Linked DNA regions of Homo sapiens: regions 1 and 2 are each linked to region 3. Evidence: promoter capture Hi-C in human tissues and cell types (Jung and others, 2019). All regions are on one chromosome and are shown on one strand. Each heading gives the region's core, a stretch centred on a gene start or on the middle of the fragment in contact. The rest is flanking DNA. Distances are from core to core; before and after follow the strand shown. Region 1 overlaps RAD50 (RAD50 double strand break repair protein). Region 2 overlaps RAD50 (RAD50 double strand break repair protein). Region 3 holds the start of LEAP2 (liver enriched antimicrobial peptide 2).

Region 1 (2,913 bases), core at 3-2,502, 280 kb after region 3:
TATCAAGAACAAAAATAAATTCTAGACTGACTAAAGTTCTAAGCTTAAAACTATAAAAATATGAAAATAAAATATAAAATTTCTTAAAGTTCTTAAAGTCTTCAAGTGGGGATGGTCTTTCTAAGCCTTAAGAGTGGAGTACCAAGTCGAACAATATAAAATTTTAAAATTTGTGTATGTTAAAAGTTAACAGTAATGTGCATGTGTGTATATACATATATATACATTTCTGTATTAACTTTTTGTAATTAAACAATAACTTTTAAGCTTGAAAGTCTATTATATAGAGTACTAAGCTCACTTAGCCTCTAAAATATAGTCAATACCAACTTAATACCTTATAGTCTATGACTTATGAGTGCAAGGTAGGCTATTTTAAGTACCAGACAGTATAATTAGAACAAAAAGAAAAATCATACTTTGTCTTTGGTCAGCATCTCCATTTGGGTACGTGTTGTTGTATGATGGTTTAACTGCTCCATCTCCTGGTCAAGTTTACGCAGGGTCCTGTCTAAGTCTGCTTTTTCATTTTGGAGACTTATTACTTCCATTTTTAAGGTTTCTACATTGCTGTTTTTCTCAGCCTTGCTTAACTCACGTTCCTAGTCAATAATTCATACAAATGCAAAGGTGTTATATATTTTGTGCAAGAATTAAAATAATGACAAAGTGTATTAGAAATTAACTACTCCTCAGAATGTTCCAAATATTACTGTTTGCATCCAACAAGAGAAAAAAACATAAGGCACTATATATGCTCTAAGGTATATCTTATTAAAGTGACCTTACTATGTTATAATGGTAGAGAATTAGTAAATAAACCTAGAAGGGTCAAACAGGAAAGAAATGTGAGAATTACTGTAAAATTAGGAGACATGTGTCTAAGTACACAGATTAGTGAGTCCTCAGTCAACAATTAAATATTTATTATGTCCCCATGTAATTCACTATATTGCCTGGTATGTAGAAACTATAAAAATAGTGTGATGTGGTCCCTGACCAAGTATCTCCCCACCCCAACAAGACAACACTGATGAAGTGCTAAACTGACAAAAATGTATGCTACAATGGTGAGTTATGGAGCAAAAATAAATGTTTACATAAATTATCAAGATGGGCTTTAAGAAGTTTGCCATGCTTTAGAATGCTTACTTTGGTAATGGAGATGTGAAGAAGGAGGACAGACTAGAAGCAAGAAAGAAAATATGGAAATACCTGAAAAGATTGGCTAAGAAAGTTTTTAACACAGAAAAAGTAATAATACAGCAAAAATCATCTAGAATTACAACGTGTGTGACCTAGAGGAAAAATACTTGCTTTTTTAAAACTTTGGCAAGTGTTCTTTTTCTTTTTTTTGAGATGGAGTCCCACTCTGTCACCCAGGCTGGAGAGCAGTGGCGCAATCTTGGCTCACTGCAACCTCTGCCTCCCAGGTTCAAGCGATTCTCCTGCCCTGGCCTCCCAAGTAGCTGGGATTACAGGCACACGCCACCACGCCCAGCTAATTTTTGTATTTTTAGTAGAGACGGGGTTTCACCATGTTGGCTGGACAGGTCTTGAACTCCTGACCTCACGTTATCTGCCTGCCTTGGCTTCCCAAAGTGCTGGGATTACAGGTGTGAGACACCGCACCCGGCCTGGTAAGTGTTCTTAATCAAGGTGCTCATAAGAATTAGCCAGTTTTGTTGTGTTTTGAATGTACATTTCTATGCCCCATTCTCAGAGATTTTGATTTGGAAGGTCTGAAGCTTTAAGGTCTGAGTACAGTATCTTTAAAAAGCTCCCTATGTGATTCTAATTTTCAGGCTATCGGGTTGTAGAACCAAAGAGTCAGAAGATCAAGATATTCAGATGAATTCATTTTACATGAGAATAAGACAAAGTTGATGTTTTTATTAAAATGCTATAATCTTAGGATCAAAAATAGACAAAATACTTCTAAAAGTATTATATCTTAAAATTATTAGATTATTCAAACAATATCTTACAGCTTTTATGAGCTCCTGGTCCAGTTCAAGAATCCTGTCTGAAGATCCTTCCAACTGCTGTAATTCATACTTCACATTTTTCAGCTCATTCTGCTTCTTACTTAGGATTTCTGATTTTAACTCAATTATTCTTCCCAGTCCAGTTTTCTTATCTCTTATCTCATCTATCTGTTTTTGTTTCAGAGTCTCTTTTTCTGCAAAGTCATTCTAAATGCATATGTAAAGAATGAGCATTAATAATTTACTAAACAATTTAAGTTTTTTAATTGCAAAAGGAATATATGTACACTGAAGAAAATACAAAAAAGTACAGTCGTGTGTTGCTCAGCAGGGATATATTCCAAGAAATGCATCATTAGGCAATTTTATCATTGTGTGAACATCAGAATGTATTTACATAAGCCTACATGGTATAGTTTAATACACACATAGACTATATGGTATAGCCTATTGTTTATGGGCTACAAACCTATACAGCATATTACTGTACTGAATACTTTGGCAACTGTAACATGATGATAAGTATTTATGTATCTAAACATATCTAAACACAGAAAACATACAGTAAAATACAGTATTATAATTTTATGGGACCAATGTCAAATATGTGGTCTATCACTGACCAAAACATGTGGTTCAAGACTGTATTTTAAAAACAATCAAAACCATTACCCAGAGATAATCATTAACTGTGAGCAAATGTTTTCTCTGCAATTAGTTTTTAAAAATTTTTACTTAAAACCAAATAAAAAATGTAGGTTTACATTTTCTTCATATTTTTATCTTTATACACTTAAGAACATTTGCTTCAATAAAGGTTTTTCTGCCTTGTAGCAGATTTTATCCTAACACTAATAGAAAAATATGCCAAAATGGAGTCCAACCAAAAATTAAAACAATTCAAGTAGAGAATATGATGCAAACA
Region 2 (2,961 bases), core at 264-2,763, 300 kb after region 3:
ATGGAGTCAAAGGAGATCATTCTGGAGCTTTAAGATACACCTGCCCCACTGAATTTCGGACTTGCACGGGGCCTGTAGCCCCTTTGTTTTGGCCAATTTCTCCCATTTGGAATGGCTGTATTTGCCCAATGCCTGTATCCCCATTGTATCTAAGAAGTAACTAACTTGCTTTTGAGTTTACAGGCGCATAGGCAGAAGGGACTTGCCTTATCTTGGGTAAGACTCTGGACTGTGGACTTCTGAATTAATGCTAAAATAAGACTTTGGGGGACTGTTGGGAAGGCATGATTGGTTTTGAAATGTGAGGACATGAGATTTGGGAGGGGCCAGGGGTGGAATCATATGGTTTGGCTGTGTCTCCACTCAAATCTCATCTTGAATCCCCATGTGTTGTGGGAGAAACCAGGTGGGAGATAATTGAATCACGGGGGCAGGTCTTTCCTGTGCTGTTCTCATGATAGTAAGTCTCACGAGATCTGATGGTCATTATAAGGGGGAATTTTCCTGCACAAGCTCTCATTTGCCACCATGTGAGACATGACTTTCACCTTCCACCATGATTGTGAGGCCTCCCCAGCCACGTGGAACTGTAAGTCCATTAAACCTCTTTCTTTTGTAAATTGCCCAGTCTTGGGTATGTCTTTAACAGCAGTGTGAAAATGGAGTAATACACAGAACTACAGTATACATAGCTTTCCTGCCCCCCAAACCACATGAGAGTAAGTTGCTGATCTGATGTCCCAACACCAGTATTTCCTACAAAACAAGGACATTTTCAACAACAAAAATCAGGAAACTGATACTGATATATTATTACCACATGGTCCACAAATCCCATTCAAGTTTTGCCAGTTGTTCCAAAATGTGATAAGTTACCATTAACTCAGCTGTGGCATATAAAATAATGGTTCTCCAAAGATGTCCACATTCTAATCCCTTGAATTTGTGAATGTTACATTACACAGCAAAAGAGAATTAACATTACAGATGGAACTGGGGTGTCAATCACTTGACTTTAAAATAGAAAGATTACCCTGGATTATTTGAATGAGGCAAAGTATCTACAAAAAGTTAGATGCTGATAGTAGAGGAGGTTGTGTGTGTACAGGCAGGGAATATACAGAAACTGTACTTTCTGCTCAATTTTGCTATAAACCCGAAGCTGATCTACAAAATAAAGTTTAAAGTCTGTTGAAAAAAATTTAATATGCTCCCTTAAAGTAGTAGAAAATGACCATCATCTTATAAGACCTAAAAGACCAACAATGAACAGACATTCAAATATCATATAATCACCTATTTTTTCTGATGTCTTCTGTCTTATATTAATATGGTCACTTCAGCATTCTTTTCATTAGCTGGCACGGTATATTTTTTCCATCCTTTTGTTTTAAACCCATCTGTACTATTATATATAAAAACACTGTTATTCCTTTTACTTTATTTAGGGTTTTTTGGTTATTGTCCTCCATTTTTCTCATGTTTTTATTTTTATGTTTTTATTTATATCTATGAACATAGTTATAAGATTTATAATAAGATTTTAAGGTTCTTATCTACTAATTCTATCATCTATTCATCCCTAGGGTACTTCTGTGGATGCCTTCCTCACTCAGTCCTACCTAATGGCTTTTGGACTGAATTAATCAGGAATGAATAACTATTCATCCATTAGTTATGCTGAGAGTTTTTATCATGAATGAGTATTAAATTGAAAAGCTTTTTCTGTATCTATTGATGCTCATATGATTTTTCTTCTTTATTCTATTACTGTGGCAAATTATACTGATTGTTTTTTTCTTTTTCTACAGCCTAATTCACTTGTCCCAGTACGTCCTTTAGAGCAAAAGGATTCAGTTCAGAATTACACTTTGTATTTGGTGGTTATGTCTCTTTACTTTCTTTCAGCCTGAAATAGTTGCTCAGATTTTCCTTGACTTTCATGACTGATAATTTTGAAAAGTACAGACCATTATTTTGCAGAATACCTCCCAAAATTTGGGTAATATTTCCTCACGACTAGAATCAGGTTATGTATCTTTGGCAAGAATATTATACAAGCGATGATGAGTTCCTTTTACTGCATCTCATCAGACAGGACATCATTTCCATTTATCTCATTACGGAGGGTATTAACTTCAATCCCTTTATTTATTTTTTTGAGACAGGGTCTCACTTTGTCATCCAGGCTGGAGTGCAGTGGCATGAACACAGCTCACTGCATCCACGACCTCTGAGTCATAAGCAATCCTCCTACCTCAGCCCCCCAAGTAGCTGGGACTATAGGTGCATGCCACCACACCCCGCCAATTTTTGTAGTTTTTGTAGAGATGTGGTTTCACCATGTTGCCTAGACTAACTTCAATCTCTTGATAAAGGTGTATCTCCTAGCTTCACCAAAAAATTTTTCTTTACAATTAATTAATAATTTGAGGGAGAGATGCAGAGACCATACAACTATCTCATACTTCATCAAACTTTCTTCCATTAGTTTTAGCATCTACTGTTTCTTACCTGAATGAATTATTATTATGACAGCTATCAAATACAGGCATACCCCATCTTATTGTGCTCTTCAGAGGTTTGTGGCAACCCTGCATCTAACAAGTCTATCGGTGCCATTTTTCCAACAGCATGTGCTCACTTTGTGTCTCTGTGTCACATTTTGGTAATTCTCACAATATTTCAAACTTTTTCATTATTATTGTATCTGTTATAGTGATCTGTGATAAGTGATCTTTGATGTTACTACTGTAATTGTTTGTGTGCCACAAACCATCCACATATAAGAGGTGAACTTAATCCATTAACGTGTGTGTCCTGACTGCTTTACTGACCTGCCATTCCCGTCTCTCTCCCTCTCCTTGGAACCTGATTGCCTGAGACACAATAATATGGAAATTAGGCCAATTAGTAACCCTACAACAGCCCCTAAGTGTTTAAGCGAAAGAAGAGTCAAAC
Region 3 (2,911 bases), core at 225-2,724:
AAACTAGATTTTTCTCTCTGTTCTGCCTTATCTTCAGACAGCCATAGACAAACCTGGGTGCTTCATTAGATGGCAAGTGCTTGACCATCTTTTTTTTTTTTTTTTTTTTTTGAGACAGAGTCTCTCTATGTCACCCAGGCTGGGGTGCAGTGGCATGATCTTGGCTCACTGCAACCTCCACCTCCCAGGTTCAAGTGATTCTCCTGCCTCAGCCTCCCAAGCTTGACCACCTTTGACACCTCCCTGAAGAGTATGGAGTGAAGGGATCCAGGGCCACAGCTTAGGAACTTGCTGAAGTTGATTACGTAGCTATTGATTATGTAGCTCTCACTACACTTTCCAGATTGAGAAGTTAACACATTATTGGGCAATGCTGTTTTTTTCTTTAGTATACAAAATGAATCCTTCTTTCCCTCAAAAGCTTGAATTCCAGACTGCTAAAATTTCAATTTGAGACATTTAATAGTATCCATAGAAAAATAAACTCTAAATTGACAAGTTTAGTTATGCTTATCCATATATCAACATTCTAAGAAGAAATGGAGACCAATTTAAAGCGTACATCTGCCTTTAAATATTAAAAATACAAGATTGCTTCACTTGGGTGTCTCCAGCCAAAATGCAGTTAATCAATATTCCATAGAACGGAGCATTGTCGGAGGTGACTGCTGTCCTTTCTTTCCCTGGTATGTACATCATTCCTGGGCCACACTTAAGGAACAGCGTCTTTTTCTAGGGGAAAAGAAAGGGTAGTTTTTTAAGACTGGGTCTAGGAATGACCAGGGCCACCTATGCTGCATTTCCTTCCTCTTTGCTTGATCTGTCCAGTCTCAGGAAAGACTGAAGAATGGAAAGGCACCACTCTTTCATGGTACCCACATAGAGCTGTTCTTGGCTCCTAACTCCTAAGGGATTTTCCATGGAGCTCCCAGTCTCAGTCTAGAACTCCTCCATCCCAGCTTTATTCTTAGGTTCATGTGTCCCCTTGTCACTCCTCTGCCCAGCTTCCCAGGGCTCTCTGGCCCAACCCTGCTCCCAGGTTCAGGGAGTACCTGCATAGCCTTGTGATACACTCAGAATCATCCCGGCAGGAGGCTCCAATAGGCCTGAGGGAAACCCCTCTCCAAAATGGGGTCATTCTCCGTGGCCTTCTCTTTGCCGAACTCACTTCTGGTATTGGGGAGCCATCTATCTGTAAGGGCAAAGACATTCAGATATGAAAGTGTTGACACCCTGCTGCACACCTTGGAAGAGTGATCATTCCATTCCGCAGATGCTGTAGACTCAGAACAGAGGAACCATTCCTCAGGACTGAATCTAGCTTTCAAGTTCCACCACCACTATCATCTCCACACTCCACACACACACATAAGTATCCTTCCCTCCTTACCTGGCCCAACAGCAACAGGAAGATCATGAGGACTGCACAAAGTTTGAGGTGCCACATCTTGACAGGGGGAGGATGTTGGAGCCTGAAAGCCAGGGACAGTTCCTACTTCCTTTTATAGACTGACATCAACTCTTGCATTGTTACTGGGTGAGATGGGGGCAAAGTTTATATTTGTAATCAGAATCAATTTAATAAGTTAATGTCTACCGGAGGAATGTGCTCAAGGGCCACCTTTCAGGCACGTTGTATTTACTGATCCCTCATCTGGACTTTGAGTGATTGTGTTGCTGGCATGGACCCTTTCGCCCATTTTACCAAAAGTCAGCACTGCCCTTCCTTCCCTTTGAAAGCCACGTGAAACCATTGAGGGAGGTCAGGCAACTAGCCACATTTCTATTCCAAAATAGCTCAGTGAGATCACTCCCATAGAATTCCAATAATGAAGTCTTCAGAAATAATGTTGGCCCCTTTCAGCCTTGTCTAGGAAAGAAGCACTGATCTATTGTGTACAGCCAATTGGATAAGGCCCTTATCTCCTTTCTGTGGGAGGATGCTTCAGCAAGGCCTACAGTTCCCCAGATCGTCCACTTGCTTAGATGGACTGTCACCCTAATCTGCACCTCTTTATCTCACTAGTAAAATGAAGACCCAGCTGTGGAAAGTTCAAAGTCTGGCCTCCTGCCCTCTCAGGGGAATGGCTGGATGTGAGACTTATTTGGACCACAGGTGAATTGAATAATTATAGGTTTCTTTTTGTTTTTAAGCACATGTAGATGAGGAGGTAACAAGATCTCCTAAATCAGAGGGAGAGCTTGTGTAGTGACTGTATTAAAAGCCTTGAATTATGGGCTTTCTTCCCAGTAGTTGAGTGGGGCCTTTCCTTCCGGCAGCTTCAGGGCAACAGGCATAGGGATGAGATACCTCCAAAGCCCAAAGCATCCATCAGTTTAAGTAGGAACTGCTGCAGATTTCTAGACCAAGGGAGGACATGTATCTAAACGATGGGTAGTTATGGGTACTCGTGAAATGACATGGGCATTTTAAGTTTGAGGGGAAAGCTGTGAATTCTGAGTAAGGAGACTGATTGGACTTTAGATCTTCCTATGACCTGGGAGGATAATAAGCTTAAGACAAAGACAACAAATTCTTTCTGCCGGGCATCATACTGAAAACTTGGCTAATACCTCTTCCCAAGGGCCGTCTCATCTTCACAGGTTGGGTATTTGGATAAGAACCTGCTTGTTCCTTTACTCCAGGAAAACGTGGAGGAGATGCACAACAGCTGAAGGTAGAAAAGGATGGCCACTGACCCTGCTGCCAGTCAGACAGAGGGAGCTTCTTGCCAAGGGAGAAGCAGATGGTTTGATGGACCTCAGAGCTGGAATTGGGCAGGATGTGACCACAGATCTGACTGTCCTGATTCTAGTCCTCTCAGAATCATGGAGCCAGGCCTTGAGGGGGATGCCACTGCATGCACTTTAGGAACATTGAGAAGAGACCTATATACCAACGAACCAGTTG

The links. Contacts are between HindIII fragments. The study calls those that stand out against the background at their distance.
Region 1: a contact is called between a fragment that was not itself captured here and the fragment with the promoter of LEAP2 in region 3, in 1 of the 25 tissues and cell types used here (mesenchymal stem cells).
Region 2: a fragment that was not itself captured here is called in contact with the fragment with the promoter of LEAP2 in region 3 in 2 of the 25 tissues and cell types used here (lymphoblastoid cells and mesenchymal stem cells).

Annotation. Positions count from the first base shown.
Region 1 is chr5:132,588,913-132,591,825 of GRCh38, reverse strand. It overlaps RAD50 (RAD50 double strand break repair protein), which reads right to left. Exons shown (of 25, transcript NM_005732.4): 9 at 1,989-2,195; 10 at 420-602. Among named protein-coding and RNA genes, the nearest start is that of RAD50, 33 kb to the right of the region's middle. The HindIII fragment of the contact is 3,171 bases long and covers 1-2,837 here.
Region 2 is chr5:132,570,918-132,573,878 of GRCh38, reverse strand. All of the region lies in intron 2 of RAD50 (RAD50 double strand break repair protein), which reads right to left. Among named protein-coding and RNA genes, the nearest start is that of RAD50, 15 kb to the right of the region's middle. The HindIII fragment of the contact is 7,396 bases long and covers 1-2,961 here.
Region 3 is chr5:132,872,231-132,875,141 of GRCh38, reverse strand. LEAP2 (liver enriched antimicrobial peptide 2) reads right to left here and starts at 1,474. Exons shown (of 3, transcript NM_052971.3): 1 at 1,391-1,474; 2 at 1,053-1,192; 3 at 96-732. The coding sequence starts at 1,447. The coding sequence ends at 696. The HindIII fragment of the contact is 2,304 bases long and covers 1,469-2,911 here.